Linked DNA regions of Homo sapiens: all the other regions are linked to region 2. Evidence: promoter capture Hi-C in 16 types of primary human blood cells and fetal thymus (Javierre and others, 2016). All regions are on one chromosome and are shown on one strand. Each heading gives the region's core, a stretch centred on a gene start or on the middle of the fragment in contact. The rest is flanking DNA. Distances are from core to core; before and after follow the strand shown. Region 1 overlaps CDIP1 (cell death inducing p53 target 1). Region 2 holds the start of PPL (periplakin). Region 3 overlaps MGRN1 (mahogunin ring finger 1). Region 4 overlaps DNAJA3 (DnaJ heat shock protein family (Hsp40) member A3).

What was found. The method cuts DNA at HindIII sites, captures the fragments that hold promoters and counts their contacts. A CHiCAGO score of 5 or more calls a contact.
Region 1: a contact is called between a fragment that was not itself captured here and the fragment with the promoter of PPL in region 2, in 3 of 17 cell types (M1 macrophages, neutrophils and M2 macrophages). The highest score is 5.3, in M1 macrophages.
Region 3: a contact is called between a fragment that was not itself captured here and the fragment with the promoter of PPL in region 2, in 1 of 17 cell types (erythroblasts). The highest score is 5.2, in erythroblasts.
Region 4: a contact is called between a fragment that was not itself captured here and the fragment with the promoter of PPL in region 2, in 1 of 17 cell types (neutrophils). The highest score is 5.1, in neutrophils.

Annotation. Positions count from the first base shown.
Region 1 is chr16:4,522,476-4,528,103 of GRCh38, forward strand. The region is part of intron 1 of CDIP1 (cell death inducing p53 target 1); the gene reads right to left. Among named protein-coding and RNA genes, the nearest start is that of CDIP1, 13 kb to the right of the region's middle. RefSeq lists an enhancer at 1-297. The HindIII fragment of the contact is 937 bases long and covers 1,076-2,012 here.
Region 2 is chr16:4,934,116-4,939,724 of GRCh38, forward strand. It overlaps PPL (periplakin), which reads right to left and starts at 3,033. Exons shown (of 22, transcript NM_002705.5): 1 at 2,869-3,033. The coding sequence starts at 2,930. RefSeq lists a silencer at 2,976-3,375. The HindIII fragment of the contact is 7,029 bases long and covers 1-5,609 here.
Region 3 is chr16:4,636,132-4,641,623 of GRCh38, forward strand. The region is part of intron 1 of MGRN1 (mahogunin ring finger 1); the gene reads left to right. Among named protein-coding and RNA genes, the nearest start is that of MGRN1, 14 kb to the left of the region's middle. RefSeq lists an enhancer at 1,142-2,106. The HindIII fragment of the contact is 5,962 bases long and covers 1-4,779 here.
Region 4 is chr16:4,443,735-4,449,253 of GRCh38, forward strand. It overlaps DNAJA3 (DnaJ heat shock protein family (Hsp40) member A3), which reads left to right. Exons shown (of 12, transcript NM_005147.6): 7 at 930-994; 8 at 3,152-3,280; 9 at 4,999-5,114. Among named protein-coding and RNA genes, the nearest start is that of DNAJA3, 21 kb to the left of the region's middle. The HindIII fragment of the contact is 654 bases long and covers 1,078-1,731 here.

The DNA of each region.
Region 1 (5,628 bases), core at 294-2,793, 410 kb before region 2:
AGGAGGCAGGTCCCAGGCATCCAGCCAGGAACAGGGCTTTCTGCTTTGCTGGGAAAACTGAAAGGCCGATTTCTGCCTTGCCTGCAGCTTCCATGTGCTGAATAAAGGAGGTGCCCACTGCTCCATGAGGGGCAGAGCCGAGGTAAAAGACAAACACTCTCTGTGCTTCTTGGGTCTGAAAAGAGAATGGCAAGGCCCAAACCAGGTCTGGAGGAAAAGGCCAAAGCAAGAAGTGAGCCAGAAGCAAGCAGGAGCTCACGTGGGCCTCAGGGAAGATGCTCTCAGTCCAGATAGCAGCACCCTGCAGGGACAGGGCAGCGGGAAAAGGAGAGCACAGAATCCCCACCAAGGGTGCAGGCCTGAAGGGGACCCTTCCAGGGAGGCTTGGCCCACACTAGGCCTTTCCATCCTGTGACATCTCCATCCAACACACAGACGGATTAGTTCAAACCCACCTTGGAGGGCGGTGTGAGAATTAAGTAAGGCATGGATATAAAAACTTACTGAACCACTGTAACGGGCCATGCAGCGTGAGGGTCATTAGGAGGGGGACTGTTACTTGCAAGGGATGGCCGCTGACCACGTAGCTGTTCCGCCTATTCTCCCAAGCACCCCAGGGCTGGGCTGAAGCACAGTCTGTGAGGTGACCACGTAACAGAGGCCCTCTAAGGGGAGGGCGGGGGATGGTGCTTCCTTCTGATAGTTACTCAGCACATCCTCCGTGCCAGATACAGGCTGGGGATTAAAGACACGTCCCTGGCTGGGCGCAGTGGCTCACGCCTGTAATCCCAGCACTTTGGGAGGCTGAGGAGGGCGGATTACGAGGTCCAGAGATCGAGACCATCCTGGCCAACACGGTGAAACCCCGTCTCTACTAAAAATACAAAGATTAGCTGGGCGTGGTGGCACGTGCCTGTAATCCCAGCTACTTAGGAGGCTGAGGTAGGAGAATCACTTGAACCCAGGAGGCGGAGGTTGTAGTGAGCCAAGATCGCGCCACTGCACTCTAACCTGGCGACAGAGCGGGACTCCATCTCAAAGAAAGAAAAAAAAAGACATGTCCCTGCCTTCCAGAAGCTTACGGTCAAGTGAAGAGGATGAGCGTTAAATAATCACCCCCCTCGCCAAAAAACCACAAACACAATTACATCTGTGACCAGTGGTATCGAGAAAGTCCAGGGCACAGTAGAAGGACAGCAAGATCGCCGTTCTGGAGCTCTAACACCATCTCTTCAAGCAAACCTGGGAGGAGGTGGCGGAAGAGTTAATGAGACCAGCAGGCAAAGGGAGGGATGGGGACAGCAGAGGGAACAGTGAGTACACAAGGCCTAAGGAAGGAGGGATGTGCCCCTGAGGGTGGCCAGATGGCAGCCTGGGGCCCTCACAGCGACCCAGCCACAGGGTTTGTTCCAGAGCTCAAATACCTCAGATCTCCAGGACAAGGATGACAAGGCCAGCTGGACAGTGTCCCAGGCCCTTCTCCTCAGGCTTTAGGCTTCCCCAGGAGACCTCCGGCACCATTCAGCCTTGTTGCATTGTGGCACTTGGAAACAAAGACAGCGGTCTTCTTTGCTTGACTGTCAATAGAATATTGGGAGAGCACAGGTCTCCCTGGGACCCTGCCTCGCCGCTGATGGCCTGCAGCCCTAGACAAATTCCTCAACCTCTCTGAGCCTCAGTTTCCCCACGTGCAAAATGAGGTTCTTGGAAGGCTGAACAAAATCCCACATGTAGATGTCCAGGCTGTATTGCTGGAGACGCCTTCCATGAATTACTACGCAGATACCACCACCCATACAGAGCTGTGCTGTGCTCCTCCACATCACACTGCAAAGGAAGAAGGCAGAATAACAAGATCTCAAACAGCAATGTTCCGCCTAATGAAGTACAGACTGGAGATTGCCAGCTGCACCCAAATCCACTCTCTCCCCCATTCTTGAATACAGAACTCCACTTTCACTCAGGGCAAGTCCATCAACCAAGAGGGTCCCCGAGCTTTCTTAGAGTGACAAAGCTTTGGCTAATGAGCTGTAAGCAGAAGTGTCCAGACCATAAGAAGGCATTCAGGGCAAGCCGACTCAGCCCGGAGCCAGGCCCTTCATCTTTCCTGCCTTCCTCCCATCTACCACCTGGAAGATAGATGCCATGGCTCCAGTAGCTGTGCTTCACCATGAGGGCCTTGGGATGGAGGCCAGTGCCTAGGACAGCCATGGGACACCACACCAGCAACTAACTGACCACCTCCCACATCTTCCACATGAGTAATAAAACTTGGTTTACTGGTTAATTATTGGTAAATTATTTTCAGGTTAAGTATTAACAAGTGTCATTACAAATATACAGCACAGACAGGTGCAGTGGCTCACACCTGTAATTCCAGCACTTTGGATGCCAAGGTGGGAGGACTGCTTAAAGCTAGGAGTTCAAGACCAGCCTGGGCAACATAACAAGATCCCATCTCTACAAAAAAATAAAATTAGCCAGGTATGGTGATAGACACCTGTGGTCCCAGCTACTTGGGAGGCTGAGGCGGGAGGATTGTTCTAGCCCAGGGATTCTAGGCTACAAAGAGCTATGTCACGCCAATGCACTCTAGCCTGGGCAACAGAGTGAGACTCTATCCCCCCTCCACCACAAAAATATATCTCTACAGTTCCTTAGGTCTGAAGGAACACAAGTTCTCTTCAAGTGATCCATGATCAAAAGGATCATGGCTTTCTTTAGGTCACATGACACAGCCTCAGCCAGTACAGAGGCCAAGGCATGGGGAATACTCCCTGGCGGGAAGGCTGGAGCAGATGCTTCCGTAGTTAAAACAGGCCCCGAGAGAAGTGCAGCTGGTTGCCTTGGAGCGAGGACACATTCTTCTGCAACTCCAGTGCTCATTTCAGCATGAGCACTGGCTCAAGGAGGAGCTGAGGAGGACGATGGCGTGCAGTGAACGTTAATAGAGCATGCACTGTTTGGATGCAGGTGCCCAGCACAGGGACATGAAGGAAGTGCTCCAAGTGAGGAGGTGCTCAAAAGGGAGCCCCTGCTGTGAGACTGCTCCTGGGCCCCAAACCCTCTCCACTCCCCTCTCCACCATGCCCTATCCAAACCTGGGGCTAATCCAGCCACCCAAGTCCATGTGGGACCAGGCCAGGATTCCCTGTGGCCTTTCGCAGCTGACCAGAGGGACCCTATTCCCAACGCTGGGTGATGAGCAGGAAAGAGGAGGCCCTCCACAAAGGTCCACTCAGTTGCAGAGCAGCCTCTAGTGAGGCTGAGCCCTCCCAAGACTCAGGGAGGTTGCCAATGTGTCCCCTTCTCTGGGACCGTTGTCCTCGGCTGCCAAGTTCTAGCACAGGCAGGCCTGGAAAATCCTGAACATGGCCCATTTCCCATTGTCCTGATGGAGGCAGGACGAGACAGTCCCTCCCTCAGATAACATCGCGGGTGGCTCTGAACCATTTATTTATTTTTACACTTGAAGATGGGTGTATCTGATGCCTTGGGAATTCTAAACACTTCAAAACAAGCTCAACTTAAGTCACAGAAAGGACCAGAAAACAGATCTGGTTTTCCCATCTGCCAGCTCTCCTCCCACCCAACCCTACATGCTCCTCCTCGACCATGATGAGTCTCAGCGGAAATAAGACACCAGCCTAGCCAGGCACGGTGGCTCATGCCTGTAATTACGGCACTTTGGGAGGCAGAGGTGGGCGGATCACGAGGGCAGAAGTTCAAGACCAGGCTGGCCAACATGGTGAAACTCTGTTTGTACAAAAAATACAAAAATTAGCTGGGCATGATGGCATCCGCCTGTAATCCCAGCTACTCGGGAGGCTGAGGCAGGAGAATTACTTGAACCCAGGAGGCGGAGGTTGCAGTGAGCCGAGATCACACCGTCGCACTCCAGCCCGGGCAATAGTCTGAGAATCTGTCTCAAAATATAAAAAATAGCTGGTCACGGTGGCTCACACCTGTAATCCCAGCACTTTGGGAGGCCAAGGCAGGCGGATCACAGATCAGGAGATTGAGGCCATCCTGGCTAACATGGTGAAAACCTGTCTCTACTAAAAATACAAAAAAATTAGCCAGGCATGATGGCGGGCGCCTGCAGTCCCATCTACTCAGGAGGCTGAGGCAGGAGAATGGTGCAAACCCGGGAGGCGGAGCTTGCAGTGAGCTGAGATCGCGCCACTACACTCCAGCCTGGGCAACAGAGTGAGACTCCATCTCAAAAAAAAAAAGATAAATAAAAATAAAATAAAAAATAAAATAAAAATAAAATTAAAAATAAAATAAAAAAGACATCAGCCCAACCCCATGGCCCCAAACACCACTGCGCCCTCCAACAGAAGCATGAGCCCTGTGTCGCAGGCAGAGCTGCAGGGGCAGAATCTTGCACCGAGTGGGGCACAGGCATCAGGCCCCACGCCCACCACCCTGCCCTGCCACCTGACTCTCCAGTCTCAGATTTTTTTTCATCTGTGATATGGCGGTAGGAGCAGCCCCTTATCAAGAATTGTGATGAGTCACGGGAGAGGCCATGGGTGAAGAGCACACCACTGAAGGCCTGCCACAGGAGCCTGAGAGAGGAAGTACACGAGAAAAAAGAAGACACTGTTACTTTTTTTTTTTTTTTTAGACGGAGTCTCGCACTGTCGCCCAGGCTGGAGTGCAGTGGCGGGATCTTGGCTCACTGCAAGCTCCGCCTCCTGGGTTCACACCATTCTCCTGCCTCAGCCTCCCGAGTAGCTGGGACTACAGGCGCCCGCCAACACGCCTGGGTAATTTTTTGTATTTTTAGTAGAGACGGGGTTTCACCGTGTTAGCCAGGGTGGTCTTGATCTCATGATCTCGTGATCCACCTGCCTCGGCCTCCCAAAGTGCTGCGATTACAGGCAAGTGCCACCGCACCCGGTGACACTGTTGCTCTTAAGCAGAAGCAAAATCAAAAGGCAGACAGGACTCAAAGAATGGTTCTAAACCTAAAAGTACTAAGGCCTCTAGGAACTATGATGATGACAATTACTGTGCAATTTATATCATGCTGAATTTTAGTAAAACCTCCTGGCAAACCACTCTCACTTGGTGACACTCCGTCCACAGCACGGGGCCACAGCATAGTGGATCAGTACAACTTTCCTGGACAGCCTTGCTACCTGTACACTCTTATGGACTCAATTCCACTTCAATGTATTCGTTCTAGAGGTAAATGGACATGTGAACACAGATTCACAGGCAAAGATGTTTATATGCACCACTGTCTTGATGTTCAAGAAAATGGAACTGGTTACATGCATGTGATTAGCTATATAATGTAACTGTATTCAGCCCCTAAAAAATGATATAGTTTTGTTTTTGTTTTTTGAGATGGAGTCTCGCTCTTGTTGCCCAGGCTGGAATGCAATGGTGCAGTCTAGGCTCACTGCGACCTCCGCCTCCCGGGTTCAAGTAATTCTTCTGCCTCAGCCTCCTGAATAACAAGGATTACACGCACCCGCCACTAAGCCTGGCTAATTTTTGTATTTTAGTAGAGATGGGGTTTCACCATGTTGGCCAGGCTGGTGTCGAACTCTTGACCTCAGGTGATTTTGCCCACCTTGGCCTCTCAAAGTGCTGGAATTACAAGCATGAGCC
Region 2 (5,609 bases), core at 1,783-4,282:
GGCTGGAGGCTGTCCTCGGTCACCTGCACCATCTGGCCTGACTCTGTCATTAGCTCAGGTGTGAACATCAACTCCCACACCTGTCATTAGGAACCCGGGCAACGGGAGCAACGGGGTTCACACCCTGTCCCGGCCCTCCCCAGCTTCAGCTGCTAAAAGGCAGACAAACTGGAAGGGGTGGCTTTCTCGGTGGGGTGTTCCGTTCACTAATCCACACTTTGTAGTCCAAAGGCCTGACTACCTTGGGTATGAAAGTCACCACTTGGGGCTCCTGGGTCCCCTGGGCTCGGAAAGGGCTGCTACCCTCATCCGGGCACCTCCTGTGTGCTACAGCACTGCTCCTCCCAGCAGCCCTATGCATGAGACACTCAGTATTACCACCCGTGCTGTGCAGAAAGGGAAAACAAGGCTTCGAGAGGCTCCAGGGTGGAGATGCCAGGATCAACAGTGAGGCATTCTGCTCTCAGTGCTGGAGCTCCTACTGCCCCCCATGCTGAATCTCACCAGCAATTTTGTCCTCCCCCAGACAATGGAGCGGGCCCCTGGAAAACTCAGAGTGAAGGAATAACTTGGGGATCCACTCCCTGTGACCAGCGACCACAGCCTAGAGCCGCAAGTCTGTCCCCTCCACCCCCCCACCAAGACACTTGCTATGGGGCTGGCTGGGCATCAGGCAATGTTCAAGAGATGCGTTTGAGAGGATGGGGTACAGGGCTACCCCCACCCCACAATCCAGTCTGCGAACTAGTCCCCACTAAGGGGAGGGGGCAGAGGGATGCACTGGGCTTGGAGACCACCCGGGGAGGCATCTGACATCTGCTCAGGGCTGTGGCTGTGCTCATTCTGTGCTGGGGTGGCAAGGCTCAAAGGAATGGTCTTGCACCCCAGGCTGGGGAGAGAATCAGGAGGGCTTCCTGGAGAAAGAGACGTCTAAATGGAGATCTGGGACCAATGGCTATCAGCCTAGGACAGACCGTGGCTGCCTTGGGCCAGATATACAGAGAGTGGCAGGACCCCAAATCTTTGCCACCCCAGACCCTCCCAGTCCCTGCAGCTATAAAGGATGGGATGCCTTTCATCCTCATGCTTCTGGGAAAGCCCGCACCCCTCCCAGCTTGTCTGGGTTCATTAGAACCTTTTGTTAGGTCCAAGCTGGGGCCTTCAGGATGGAGAGCTGCACGAAGGAGGGAGGCTGGGAGGAGGCAGAGGGCGGGGCGAGGCCTGGCCCCACCACTGGTATGTGGGTGTCTGCATGTGTGAAGGACTGGATGGGTCTAGTCTCTGGGGTGGAGAGGACAGAACGGTTCTCCACGGCTGGCACGGAGCATCCAATTGTGCAATGCCCCAGGGAACAGTGCAGGGACTGGACGGGCCTCTGGTTGGGTCTGAGTGCCAGCTGGACGCAGCCATGGAGGAGGGGTGTGCAGGCCCTGCCCAGTCTCTGGGGTTGTGAAAGATAGGGGAGGGGTGGGGAAATCTCTAAAGGCGGGTAATGCCTCTGAGCTTGAAAGAGCCCAAACGGAGATACGGGTGGGTGGGATCACAGGGCAGGGGGGTTTCTGAAAGGGCTGGAAGGCCCCGGAATGGAGTGTCGCACTCCAGCGTGCTAGGGCCCCGCCGCCTGCACCTGTCCGACTGGTCGGCCTAGGCCGGACTGCAGGGGTTGAGTGGGAGCCCTGGGCCCAGAGGCCTCTCCTTGCCTAGGGAAGAAGTGAGGAGCTGCTTGAGGGCACAGTGGGGGCTCCCAGTGAGAGCAGCTTGGGGGCAGAACTCCCAGACAGGAGAGCCATGTAATGTGCGGGCCCCTCACCTGCCTGAAGCCTCTTGTCCGAGAAGCTGGCAAAATGGTCCTTGCTAGCCCAGAGCCCCCACTCTATTTTCCGAAGTGGGGATATAAGGCAGGGGCTGGATTCCCACCCCCTCCGTCAATCTCAGCATCTCCACCAGGCTCCCCTAAACCGGTTATTAAGTGAACACATTAGGCTTATCAAAAGGGACGTGGGCTGCTTCTCCCTGCAAACACATCAAGACATGCCATTCCCCTCCCAGGCCGCCCTGGGAACCCGCGGCTCAGAGACGCCGCCAGTTTCGGGGCTGGGGTGGGGGCAGGGAGCCACACCCCTGCGAAACCGAGCTTCGAAGAGGAGGCCCCGAAGCCGCCCAACCTCCGCTCAGAACCCAGAGGGTGGGGAGGTAAGGGGGTGCCTCCCCCTGTGCCCCTCGACCCGACCCCACACCCCCCAGGGCCTCCGGGCGCGGCTCTGGCGCGCAGGGTGGCAGGTGCCGGGAAGTGCAGCGGCGGGTGGCCCGCCCCCTCCGGACACCCATCCCTCGCCTCCCCGACGCCAGGAACACTTGCGCGGTCTCAGAGGCGCTGGAGAGCGCCCCCCGACGCCAGCTCAGTTTCCCTGCCTCAGGGCGCCCCCTGGACGGAGCTTCCTGGGTCGCCCGCAGCGACCCCGCCTTGAGTGCCCGGTCCTCCAAAAACTCCGCCCCCTCATCCAGGTGACTATTCCCGGTCCTGTGCGACCCTCTGCGCAAGAGCGACCCTGGGACACGGGGGTGCCCTGTACCCCCAGCTCAGCTGCCCGTGCCCTAGGCCCTCAAGGCAATGCTCCCTGGGCTCCCGGAGTCCCCTGTGTTATGCTCCCCCTCGGGGACCCCAGCCAGTCCCTTCCCACCTGGCGGCGCTTCCCAGCTTCAGGGTGGCCTCGGTCCCGCGTTCCCGAGAGTCCCGCACTCCGGGTTCAGTTCCCGGTTCCTGGACCCCCGTACCCCCCATTCCTACACTGCCCGGGAGGTCTTCCAGGTCCTGTGCGCCCACAGGGGCAAGAGCGTCCCGGAGCGGAGCTGTGGGCGCCTCCTCACCTCCGGGTCTGCACAGTGGGGCTGTATTTGCCTTTGTTTCTCTTCCTGAAGAGCGAGTTCATGGTGGCGCTCGGGGTGCGGGCGGCGGCGGCTGGCGGGCCGGGCGCGCACCGAGGGGCGGGCGGGAGCGCAGGTGAGCGAGCGGCGGCGCGGGGAGCCCGGACTGCGGCGCGGCAGTGGCTCCGGGTCCCTACTCGCTGGGGGCGGGGCGCCCGCCGGCCACTGGCTCTGCGGGCCGCTCCCCGAGAAGGTGGTGCTTACCTTCCCGAGGAGGGGCCACCGCGCGGGCGGGGCTTGGACGCGGGGGTGGGGACACTGGGTCTTGGCCGGACGCCGCCCACCCCCAGCCGGGGGACTCCGGAGGCCGGGCAGGCACTGGGGCGCAAAGGCCGCCGGGGCGAGCGCTCGCAGCCCCACCCTCCTCGGGCCCGGCGCGCCTCTGGCCGAGGCCTTCACCTGGTTCTGCGCTACCGCGGAACTCGGCGCTCCTGGTGCTTTGGCGGACACCCAGCTGGGCCCCGCAAGACAGGTGCGGCAGAGACCCGCACGGATTCATGTGCCCTAGTAGCTAGCGAATTGCACTCAGATGGTGGCAATTGAGGGAAGGGGGCTGAACTGCCGAGGGCGCCGGCCTGAGTTCAAGCCCTGCCACCCCCAGGTTGGCTGACACTCCTGGGCAAGGTGTTTTACTGCTCCCAGCCACAGTTTACTTCTTTGTCAAACGGTGATAACCACCACCCCATCCGAAAGGCCTGTGGGGATGTCCCTGCAGGTAATGCACGCAAAGCGCTGAGCGCAGTGCCCTGGCCTGAATCTGCTCTCCGCTTGCCATCTCGGGTGGACAAAAACTCCTTTGAAACTTCAATAACTCCAGGCCCTGGCACTAGAAGAGCGCTTCATAGCTGGTCATAAAAGCTGCTCGATTGCGGCTCAGAACAACGACGTTGCACAATTCTGCCAGCATGTCCTGGCCCAGACTGTGTGCCAGTGGAGGAGGCTGCCCTTAGACAGAAACCTAATCTGACCTGAAGCCCGGATGGCACACACCACCACACCTGGCTAATTTTTAAAAATTTTTGTAGAGGCAGAGTTTCACCATGTTGCCCAGGCTGGTCTTGAACTCCTGTGCTCAAGTGATCTGCCGGCCTACAGCCTCCCAAAGTGCTGGGATTACAGATATTAGCCACCGTGCCCAGCCAACCTTATTCTTAATGGGGCTTCTATGGGTGGGCTTAACCCATTTATGCCTGAGGTTGCAATTTTTTGAATTGATAAATCATACCTTGGCAGTGACCTTGAGCAGTAGGAGATAACTCCCACAGGCGTCACGTTCCAATAATGGACCACTAGGCGTAAATAGAGGTGTGATTCCTCCTAAAGTTGTGCCTGCCTGCCTGCCTTCCTTCTTTCCTTCCTCTCTCTTTCCTTTCTTGCTTTCTTGCTTTCTTTCTTCTTTCTTCTTTGAGACTCAGTTGCCCAGGCTGGAGTGCATTGGCACAATCATAGCTCACTGCAGCCTTGACTTTTGGGGCTCAAGCAATCCTCCCACCTCAGCTTCCCGAGTAGCTGGATCCACAGGTGTCCACCACCACGCCTGGCTAATTTTTAAAACCTTTATATTTATATATGTTTTTTGTAGAGATGGGGTCTCGCTGTGTTGCCCAAGCTGGTCTTGAATTCCTGGGCTCAAGCAGTCCTCCCACCTTGGCCTCCCAAAGTGCTGGGATTTCAGGTGTGAGCCACTGCACCCAGCCCTAAAGTTGCTTTCAAAATGTGTGTGTCCAAATGTGCATTTTTCTGGGGGAGGATGTATTGCTCAGTGGAGTCATTTACTCATTCAACACATGTTTCCCATCACTCTCACAGCCTCAGTGTGCCTGGCTCTGCTTGTTGTACACGGATGAGAAAAGGGAAAAGAACAACACAAAAGGGGCTTTCTCTTTGGGAGCTTTCAGGTCCCGGGGCAGGGGACACATATTAAAAATGTTAACTTGGATGGGCGCGGTGGCTCACTCCTGTAATCCCAGTACTTTGAGAGGTCGAGGCAGGGGGATCACCTGAGGTCAGGAGTTCAAGACCAGCCTGACCAACATGGTGAAACCCCGTCTCTCCTAAAAATAAAAAATTAGCTGGGCGTGGTGGCGCCTGCCTGTAGTCCCAGCTACTTGGGAAGCTGAGGCAGGAGAATCTCTTGAAACTGGGAAGGGGAGGTTGCAGTGAGCTCATATCACGCCACTGCACTCCAGCCTGGGAGGTCACAGTGAGCTGAGATCGTGCCACTGCACTCCAGCCTGGGCGACAGAGTGAGACTTCGTCAAAAAACAAAAACAAAAACAAAAACACGTTAACTTTTCTTTTTCTTTCTTTTTTTTTGGAGATAGGGTCTTGCTGTGTTGCTCCGGCTGGAGTGCAGTGGCGTGATCATGGCTCACTGCAGCCTTCCTTGACCTCCCAGACGGAAGCCGTTGTCTCTTCTCAGCCTCCCTCTCAAGTAGCTGGGACCACAGGTGTGCACCACCATGCCTGGCTAATTTTTTTTAAATTAATTAATTATTATTTTTTTTTTGACAGTCTGGCTCTTGTCGCCCAGGCTGGAGTGCAATGACACACTCTCGGCTCACTGCAACCTCTGCCTCCTGGATTCAAGCAACTCTCCTGCTGCCACCACGCCCTGCTAATTTTTGTATTTTTAGTAGAGACAGAGTTTTGCCATGTTGGCCAAGCTGGTCTTGAACTCCTGA
Region 3 (5,492 bases), core at 549-3,048, 300 kb before region 2:
CTCATTAATGTGCAGTTTGATAAATGATCACAAAATGAACATGTTGAGAAAAATAGAGCAGTACCGGCCCCCAGAGGCCCCCTATTGTCCCCTTCTGAACAACCTGCCTCCCCCTTCTTCCCTGGGAACCACCCCCCTGACTTCCTCCCTGGGTGACTTCTGCTTGGGTTTGAGCTTGAAAGAACTGGAAGGAGGCGCTCTTCTTGCTCCACCTCAGGATGAGATGGGATGCAATGGCCGGGCGGGGTTTGTGAGCAGTGAGTGATCTGGCGTCTGCTGTGGGACCTTCCAGCGTCCCAGTGCTGCCCGTGGACGGGCTCCGGGGGAGCTGGGGACATCCTTGTGTCTGGCGGTGGTGCCCTTGAGCCTGATCTCTTTGGGTGCGTTTTTATGCCTGGAGTGGACTTGTTGGGGCTGTTGGGTGCATTCAGCCTTCGTAGATTTTAAACTTTTAGGAGTGAACGAATTTGCATGTCTGCAGGCAAGAACAAGGGTGTTGGTCGCTCTGCATTCATACTGGCACTAGGTAGGGTGAGGGGTGTGTGCTATTTTTAATTTTTTTTCAATTCCACCTTGAATTTCTCATTGTACTTTTCCCTGATGACCAGTGAGGTTGAGCGCCTTTCTCTATGCGAATTGGCCATCTGTTTCTTGTCCTGCTGTTGAAGTGCCTTGTGAAGTCTTTTACACATTAAAACAATTGAGTGGCCAGGCTCAGTGGCTCACACCTGTAATCCCAGCACTTTGGGAGGCCGAGACGGGCAGATCACAAGGTCAGGAGATCGAGACCATCCTGGCTAACATGGTAAAACCCCGTCTCTACTAAAAATACAAACAATTAGCAGGGCACGGTGGCGTGCGCCTGTAGTCCCAGCTACTTGGGAGGCTGAGGCAGGAGAATGGCGTGAACCTGGGAGGTGGAGCTTGCAGTGAGTCAAGATTGCGCCACTGCACGCCAGCCCGGGCGACAGAGCAAGACTCCATCTCAAAAAAAAAAAAAAAAAAAAAAATTGAGTGGCCAGGTTCAGTGGCTCACACCTGTAATTCTAGCACTTTGGGAGGCTGAGGCGGGCAGATCACCTCAGGTCAGGAGTTGAAGACCAGCCCGGCCAACATGGTGAAACCCCGTCTCTACTAAAAATTCAAAAATTAGCTGGGCATGGTGTTGGGTGCCTGTAATCCTAGCTCCTGGGGAGGCTGAGGCAGGAGAATCGCTTGAACCTGGGAGATGGAGGTTACAGTGAGCCAAGATCGCGCCATTGCACTCCAGCCTGAGCGACAGAGTGAGACTGTCTCAAAGAAAAAAACAAAAAAAAAATTGAGTTATCTTTTTTTCTTACTGGTTTATAGGAGCTCTTTCCTAAGTGCTTTTTATTATGGTTTTAATTCTTTGGAAATTGGCCGCCTTAGTGCCGTTTATGGAAGCTAGCCCAGGCAAGAAATGGAGTGTATTGAAGGCTCCGAGGGAAGTCCCAGTAACCTCAGGGGAAACGGACAAGTGGAAGCTGCGGGAACCCAGAGCCTCTGTTCGGCTCCAGCCTCAGCGCCATCCTGCAGTCCTGCAGAGCGCCCCAGCTGCTCCGGCGTGTGTGAGGCCATCGCCACCCACCAGGCTGGTCAAGGGCCAAGTGCTGCCGTCGTCCCTGGTCCCATTCCACAGGAGGGAGAATTCGGATGGCCCAGTGTGCCAGTGTCCACCTTAGGGCCAACCAGCCCTGTCTAGGGGGTGGGGGCCACCCTGAGGGTGGTGGAGGCTGTTTCCAGAAAAGGGGAGGACACACCCCCAACAAAAAAGGTGACTACAGCTTATGCCCCCTCCGTGCCCCAGCGTCTTTGCTTAGTCAGAGTTGTTCTCAGCTTTGTGTTCCGCACTGGAAGCCAGAGCCCTGTATTTAATATGGTATCACGTTTACATATGGGAGGTCCGAAAGGGACTTCTAGCCAGTGTGTTCACACCTGCCGGAGGCTCCTTTGTGTTAATTGGCATTTTTTATCCTCAGGACGTCCTGAGTTTAGGGTGGCCCTCTCATCTCAAGTTTGCAGTTAAAGAAATCAAGGTTGGGTGTGGTGGCTCCCTGTAATCCCAGCACTTTGGGAGGCCGAGGCGGGTGGATTACGAGGTCAGGAGTTTGAGACCAGCCTGACCAACATGGTGAAACTCCGTCTCTACTAAAAATACAGAAAATTGCTGGGCGTGGTGGCGGGTGCCTGTAATCTCAGCTATTTGGAAGGCTGAGGCAGGAGAATCACCTGAACCCGGGAGGCAGAGGTTGCAGTGAGCCGTGATCGTACCACTGCACTCCAGCCTGGGTGACAGAGCGAGAGTCCGTCTCAAAAAAAAAAATAAATAAATATCTCAGCCCATGTTGACTTCCCCAGCTGGGTGGGGGACTGGTAGTAGGCAGGGAAGCATGGTAGGCCCAGGGGGATCAATGCGTGGGTGATACAGCTGGGTGGGACCCCCAGAGCACTCGAAGGCTGTGGGGCTGCCACCCCCTCTGGCCTCCCACCTGGTGGGGGCATCCTGGGACCTGATCTTGTGCAGGTCTGGCCCACCTGGGGTTTATTGGCAATGCAGCAGCTGATTTTGTGAGACTGGTAAGCAGGAACACCTGTCCTGTTAGAACACGAGGAGAATTTTCAGCAGGTGGAATCAGTGAGCTGTTCGGAGCCCCTGCAGACACCTCGTGGCCTTCCCACTCCCCCTTCCTCGGGTGGGAACGATGGCTGAGGCAGCCCAGTGAAGTCCACCCCTGGTGTCCCGGGTCCCTGGGCCGCTGTGTTTCTTAGGAGGCAGACATGCTGGGTGTCTTCATTCACATCCTGGCTTACTTCCCATGGCTGACAGTGCAGGCTCTGGAGTCTGCCCAGGGGTCCCAGTGAGAATGTCTCTCACTGGTTGTGTGACCTGAGCAGGTCACTCAGCCTCACCGGGCCAGTTTCCCTGACTGTCAAACACCAGTAACAACAGCATCTGCTTTCATTCATTAGGTGAGTGTTCATCCAGCTCTTAGGCATGGAGCGGGGAGGTCATGAGGATGCGGGGCCGTGGACAGTTGAGGATGATGCCTACTTTTGGGCTGGGGAGGACAGAGGGAACCAACAGGTACACGAGATAAAGCAGCAGTGACACTATGAGGAGAATGGCGGCGGGAGCGTTGACCACGAGCTGGCAGTTGGCCTGCGTGGTGGTCCAGGCTGGCCTCACCGCGGCATCCCAAGGAGGGAATAGCCCAGGCCGGGAAGGTGGGGCGGGGTGGGCAGGGCATGTGGAATCACTGGTCTGCAGAGCGGGGAGCTTGGCCATGGCCTTCAGGTCAGGGTGCAGCAACCTTCACCATTGGGCATCATTAGGCTGGGGGCATCTGGAAGGTCAGGAGGAAGCCTGGGCTACCTAGGATGGAACAGGCAGGACAGTTGTCTCCAAGGCCTGCCTATGACTTGGGCATCCTGTCCCCAGATGCACAGCGTCTGCCCCCTCGGTGCGGGAGGATGAGGAACGCCTGCCTGTGGATCCACACATGGTCCCCGTATTGGGGGTGTGGAGGAAAGGCCTTTCTGACATGATCTGAGCCCGGCCTCTTTCTCTTAGGGGTGTACCAGGGTTGGTGGGTTTGGAGGCAAATGCATTTCAAGGGTCCAGATCACGAACCTCTGACCCGGTGGGCCCTGAACTCTGGTCTGATAAACATGGGTCAGACTTCTCCCTGAAAACTGTGAGCGTGGAGTTCAGGCACAGGCAGGCGGGGCAGGTGCTTTCAGGCTTGATAGCAAGACCCTACTTTACTCATCTGCCCTCCACGCTCCGCGGCTCCGACGGTGTTTGCTGCGGCTCCTCTGCTGCGTTGAGTCCGTCTGTGCACTCAGATGGCCTGTGCTTCGCCTTTCGCCCGCGTTCTTGGGAGGCCTTGCCGCGTCCCGGGCCTCCCGCCCTTCCAAGGTTGGCTTGTTTCAGTGATTCGGAATGTCCCTGTTTTCCTCTCGCAGATGTCTGGTGGCGTTCATTGCACACTGTGTACCACAAGATATTGACAAGGTGCAAGAGACACAAGACGGGCCCAGAAGGCTTCTTGGCTCACTCTGTGGCCTGTATGGAAGGGACAGGGCTGTCCCCCTCCCCTGGCCATCCCCAAGACAGCCTCTGACCTGTGGCCTTGTGGTTTTGGTTTTTCTCAGCTGTAGAGATGACAAACGTATGTATCCTCCTGCCTGGAGGCATGTGTGGAGAGCATTGAGGCTGTTCGGGGAATGCCTCGAGGCCTCCCACGGAAGGGATTTTGCAGTTTTCATTTCTGTGGCTGTTGTCTCCCTGTGCAGGTTGCCCGGACACCTGCAAGCCACCCAGAGTCCGAATCCCTCGGGCAGGGAGGCAGTGAACTGCTGGGCTCCAGTCCCCCTGGGGGTGACAGTAAACCAGGGGAGAAGGATGCCTTTGTTTTAGTGGTGTTCGAGGACTGCCCTGAGGCCCTGGGTCCTTGAGTGTGTTGGTTCCACATAGCCGGGATTTCCAGGACAACCTTGGGACCCTGTGGCGTCTGTCGGGCTCTGTGAGCCCACAGGAGGATTTTCAGCCATTCTGCTGGGGAAGCCCCTTGGGTGTGGTTTTTTGTGTGTGAACAGTGCCCATTGTCACTGGCGATGACACCACTGACTCCTGTCCCCGTGGTCCCCCGGCTGCAGGAGGGGAGGTGCCCAGCACAGAGACTGAGAAACAAGTGGGCTCTGGAGTCGGGGTGTGCGCCCCAGCTCCACCGCTGATGAGCTTGGGGGCCTTAGCCAAGCTTCGTTTCCTGTATGTTTGAAAGTGTGGGCCTTGTCTGCCCCTCTTTCCTTGGGGCCAGCGGGAAAGGGGGTGAAGGCGCTGACCTCAGCAGGTGTGGAGGGAGAGCCTGGTGGGTGTGGTTCCACCTGCGTTCTTTCACCTCCACAGCTGCCTTCCCACTTCCCACTCACAGTCTCCTTTTCTTTTTCCTCCACCCCCTTGGCAGCGCTGCCTGCTCCTCTTGGTCCTGAGCTGGTGCACATACAAATGTACACAGCTCATGCACGCACACACCACATGTGTGTCATTCTTCTTGAGGCAAAGGAAAGGGCGGCCCCGCCCCTAACACTTCCCCAGGCCTGGTCCCTTCCTCCTGCCCCATCAGGGACCTAGGGTCTCCTTCCCGTGTTTCTTCTCCATGTGTGGATACCCATGTGTGAGCAATAGGATTTTTTTTTTGTTTTTTGGAGACAGAGTCACGCTGTTGCTTGGGCTGGAGTGCAGTGGCCCAGGGGCCCAATCATAGCTCACTGCAACCTCAAATTGCTGGGCTCGCATGGTCCTTCTGCCTCAGCCTCTTGAGTGGCTGGTACTACAGGCACATACCACTGTGCCTGGCTACTTTTTTTTTTTTTTTTTTTAAGACAGCGTTTTGCTCTTGTTGCCCCAGGCTGGAGTGCAGTGGTGCAGTCTCGGCTGACCGCAACCTCTGCCTCCCAGGTTCAAGTGA
Region 4 (5,519 bases), core at 155-2,654, 490 kb before region 2:
GGAGCGCAGTGGCCCGATCTCGGCCCACTGCAAGCTCTGCCTCCCAGGCTCATGCCATTCTCCTGCCTCAGCCTCCCAAGGAGCTGGGACTACAGGCACCTGCCACCACACCCAGCTAATTTTTTGTATTTTTAGTAGAGACGGGGTTTCATCGTGTTAGCCAGGATGGTCTCGATCTCCTGACCTCGTGATCCACCCGCCTCGGCTTCCCAAAGTGCTGAGATTATAGTCATGAGCCACCGCGCGTGGCCTGCTTTACTGTTGTTTAGATGTCTGTTTCTCTAGAGTTGTGAGCATTTCCATTGAAGAGCATGTCTCTGTTTGTAGTTATGCATTAGTGCTATCGTTTGGTTAACACCCATCACCCCAGTGAGACCATGAACTCCCTGAGGTACTGCCTAGACCAAGCCTGAGGCAGGTGCTCAGTCATCAGGTGTCTGTGTTGCATCTCTGGAAGGTTACCCATGTGCCTCTTAGATAATGACATTGTTCCTCGTTAATAAGAAACAGGAGTGGGGAAGAAGCTGTGGGTTACAAGTGGATCTTGGGTGGAAAGTGCTGTGGGAGGTCTCACAATAACTGCTCCCTTTCTTTTTTTTCTTTTTCTTTTCTTTTTTTTTTTTTTTTTAAGACGGAGTCTCGCTCTGTTGCCAGGCTGGCGTGTAGTGGAGTGATCTCGGCTCACTGCAACCTCCGCCTCCTGGGTTCAAGCGATTCTCTTTCCTCAGCCTCCTGAGTAGCTGGGACTACAGGCGTGTGCCACCACGCCCAGTTAATTTTTAGTAGAGACCAGGTTTCACCATGTTGGCCAGGATGGTCTCGATCTCTTGACGTCATGATCTGCCCGCCTCGGCCTCCCAAAGTGCTGGGATTACAGGCGTGAGCCACCGCGTCCTGCCTAACTTCTCCCTTTCTAATGTCCCTTGTAGGAGTCGAGGATGGCCAGACCGTGAGGATGCCTGTGGGAAAAAGGGAAATTTTCATTACGTTCAGGGTAGGTGCCCTGCCCCGCACAGCTTCTGTTGGGCCTTTCCTCTCTTCGGGTGGGTGTGGCTGAGGCTGCTCCCATGTAATCAAAGCTTCACAGGAACATGTCTCGCCATTCATGTTTCTGAGGGGCACAGTGGCCACCTAGATGTGGTTTTTAGCTGTTTGTTACCTTCAAGATTCTGTGCCTTGTGTGGAGAGAAGACAACTTCTTCAACATGCTAACAAGTTAGAAATACAGGTCACATAAAAATACAGGAAACATCTTGTGTTTTTATGATAAGATTGTTGATGAGGCAGTGAGTGTGAAAGTTACAATTTTACATACTGTATACAGGGGCAAACCTTGGTTTTCTGAGATGGTGGAAACATTAATGAAGACAATGCCTTCTACTGGCAATTGCCCTCCTATGTGTACACCTGAGAAAAACCCACACAAGCCTAGCAGGCGATAGGTACAAAGGGGTGCACAAGAGTCCTGTCCATGGTAGCAAGACACTGCCTTCCTCCAACAAGAGAATGGCTCAGTGAGCCGTGGTGGTCAGAGGCTGCTGCAGGGCAGTCGGAAGGAAAGAATGAGAGCTGAACTCAAGGGATGCTCCAGGCGTTGCAGGTACAGACAGCAGGGATGGAAGGCAGCTTGCCAGTGGCTGTAGGGCCTCAGAGACCATCTGTGTAAAGTTTTAAAACCTGTGAGATGGCATTATGTATTATTTAGGGACACGGAAATACATAGTAAGTAGAAGCTTGTAGGAATGATAAATGTTAAAGTCAGGGTTGTGGTTAGCTGAGGAGGGCAAGACTCACCGGTGTTTATGATGTTTTATTTTATTTTACTTTATTTTTTGAGGTGGGGTATTGCTTTGTTGCCTAGGATGAAATGCAGTGGGGCAGTCTTGGCTCACTGTAGCCTCAGACTCCCTGGGCTCAGGTGATCCTCCCACCTCAGCCTCCTGAGTAGCTGGGACTACAGGCACACGCCACCAGGCCCGGCTGACTTTTGTATCTTTAGTAAAGATGAGGTTTCACCATGTTGCCCAGGGTGGTCTCAAACCCCAGGGCTCAAATGATCCACCCACCTTGGCCTCCCAAAGTGCTGGGATTACAGGTATGAGCCACTGCGCCCGGCCTGTGATATTTTGTTACCTCCACTGGGTTGTGGGTATGACATGCTTGTTATATTATTTACTCTTCCCTTTTTTTTCTTTTTTTTTTCTGGAAAGAGAGTCTTGCTCTGTTGCCCAGTCTGGAGTGCAGTGGCATGATCTCAGCTCACTGCAACCTCCACCTCCCAGGTTCAAGCGATTCTCTTGCCTCAGCCTCCTGAGTAGCTGGGACTACAGGCATGCGCCACTACACCCAGGTAATTTTTGTATTTTTAGTAGAGATGGGGTTTCACCATGTTGGCAGGCTGGTCTCGAATTCCTGACCTCAGGTGATCCACCCACCTTAGCCTTCCAAAGTGCTGGGATTACAAGCGTGAGCCACCACGGCTGGCCTATACTTTCTAATAAAGTAAGATTTTTTTTTTTTTTTTTTTGAGGTGGAGTCTCGCTCTGTTGCTCAGGCTGGAGTGCAGTGGTGTGATCTCTGTTCAGTGCAAACTTCATCTCCCAGGTTCAAGTGGATCTTCTGCCTCAGCCTCCTGAGTAGCTGGGATTACAGGGGCCCGCCACCACACCTGGTTAATTTTTGTATTTTTAGTAGAGACAAGGTTTCACCATGTTGGTCAGTCTGGTCTCAAACTCCTGACCTCAGGTGATCCACTCACCTTGGCCTCCCAAAGTGCTGGGATTACAGGTGTGTGCCACTGTGCCTGGCTAAAGTAAGATTAAAAAAAAAAAATCAAAAGCCAGTTTTACATTTTTGTTTCCCTTCACGATTGAATGGCTTGATCTGAGACTGAGGAAATCCAGGCACGCTTCCATTTCGGCATTTCAAGTGTGTAGAACATTGCAGTGTTGAAATATGTAGAACATGTCATTCCTGGGCCTGGGATGGTGTCTCCTTGTTGGAAGGACAGTTCTTTCCCTCAACACTGCACTTTATGTATGGAAGGGGTGTGTAGTTTGTCAGGTCTGAGCTTGGGCCTGGCCAGGCATGCAGCTGGTGTTTAGTCTGCAGTGGACTTATCTTCACATGCATCTGTCATGTTTGGCCTTAGGTGCAGAAAAGCCCTGTGTTCCGGAGGGACGGCGCAGACATCCACTCCGACCTCTTTATTTCTATAGCTCAGGCTCTTCTTGGGGGTACAGCCAGAGCCCAGGGCCTGTACGAGACGATCAACGTGACGGTAAGAGGGTGTGAGAACACCTTTGTCACCCCTGTACTTTATTGCTCTTTTTCTGAAATGGAAAAGAACTGACCAGTGGCCTGGAACCCATGAGTGACCAGCATGTGGGGGGGCACTCACAGGGGAGGACATGAGGAATTTTAGGCTGCTCCTTGAGTGTGGACCACAAGCCACAGGCCTTGAGTCTATAATCGCATGGGAAGCAGTTCCTGGCTGGCATCACTCCCACACTGGTTAGCGGGGCCTGGGAACTGGGCGCATTCAGGACACAGAAGGGTTCACCCTGGGTTGTGCTCTCTGCACTTGCTTCTGTCCAGTGTCTGGCTCCAAGAGCAGAAGACTCGGGCGGTGCATATCCCTTTTGCCACAGTGATGGCTGCCTGTGTGCTGCCAGCACCTGTCCCCCACCTCTCTCTTGACCTGCCCCTCCAGCTCTTCCCACCTCCAGGCCACATCATTCTCTGTATTCGCCTCAGAACCTTCTCCAGCTTCTTTGTGGGGAACCTTGGGGTAACCTCCATGAAGGAGGTGGGCATTTTGGGCCAAGGCTTTCTCCTCCATCTGGGGGCTATTCCCTGGCTTCTCCAGGGTCCTGTGGTTCCAAGGGCCAGGGAGCGACCTCAGCCACGCACCCTGTATTGGCTTTTCCTGCTTTGCTCCCTCACTCCTGCTTCCTGGGCTCACTTGCCCAAACTCTTGCCCCCTCATCCTAGTCACAGGCTCTGCTCTGGGCAGACCCAACTTAGCTCATTTCCATGTGCTTGTGGGCGGGCTTGGCCCAGAAACCCAAGTGGTGGTTCTTTTTTTTTTTTTGAGATGGAGTCTCGCTTTGTCGTCAGGTGCACGCCACCACACCTGGCTAATTTTTTGTATTTTAGTAGAGACAGGGTTTCACCGTATTTCCCAGGCTGGTCTTCAACTCCTGATCTCAGGCAGTTCACCCGCCTCGGCCTCCCAAAGTGCTGGGATTAAAAGGCGTGAGCCACTGCGCCCAGCCCAGTGGCAGTTCTTTTTTTTTTTTTTTTTTTTTTTTGAGACAGAGTCTTGCTCTGTCGCCAGGCTGGAGTGCAGTAGCGCGATCTTGGCTCGTGGCAATCTCCGCCTCCCAGGTTCAAGCGATTCCCACCTCAGCCTCCTGAGTACCTGGGCCTACAAGCACGCGCCACCATGCCTGGCTAATTTTTTGTATTTTAGTAGCGATGGGGTTTCACCATGTTGGCCAGGAAGGTCTCAATCACCTGACCTCGTGATCTGCCTGCCTCAGCCCCCCAAAGTGCTGGGATTACAGGCATGAGCCACTGCGCCCGGCCTTTTTTTTTACCCACCCCCTCCACCACCGCTCTGCCGAGACAGAGTCTTGCTCTGTCAGCCAGAGCTGGAGTGCAATGGCACAATCTTGGCTCACTGCAACCTCCGCCTCCCGGGTTCAAGCAATTCTCCTACCTCAGCCTCCTGAGTAGCTGAGATTACAGGTGCACGTTACCATGCCCTGCTGATTTTTGTATTTTTAGTAGAGACGGGGTTTCATCATGTTGGCCAGGCAGGTCTTGAACTCCTGACCTCGTGATCAGCCTGCCTCGACCTCCCAAAGTGATGGGAGCGTGAGCCAGTGGTAGTTCTTTTCAAGGAATTCCTATCAAGATTGTCTTCATGTAGTGAAAACTTTTTATTTGAGCAACTGGGGACCAGGGGAAACCACAGATTTTCTTTCTTTATAGATCCCCCCTGGGACTCAGACAGACCAGAAGATTCGGATGGGTGGGAAAGGCATCCCCCGGATTAACAGCTACGGCTACGGAGACCACTACATCCACATCAAGATACGAGTTCCAAAGTAAGTGCCCCCTAGGCTGTGGCCAAGCCCGCCTGGTCCTGCGGTGGCACTGCCCTTGGAGCTCTGTGGCTTGGGCAGGTTACTGCTCCCTGTAAGTCAGGTGGTTCCTGCCCGAGTTATCTGTCTGTAAAGTGGACATAGTAGAATGGTCAACTTCTTTTTTTTTGAGATGGAGTCTCGCTGTGTCCCCCAGGCTGGAGTGCAGTGGCGCCATCTCGGCTCACTGCAACCTCCGCTTCCCAGGTTCAAGCGATTCTCCTGCCTCAGCCTCCCGAGTAGCTGGGATTACAGGTGCCTGCCACCATGCCCGGCTAATTTTTTGTATTTTTAGTAGAGATGGGGTTTCACCGTGTTAGCCAGAGTGGCCTCAATCTCCTGACCTAGTGATCCACCCACCTTGGCCTC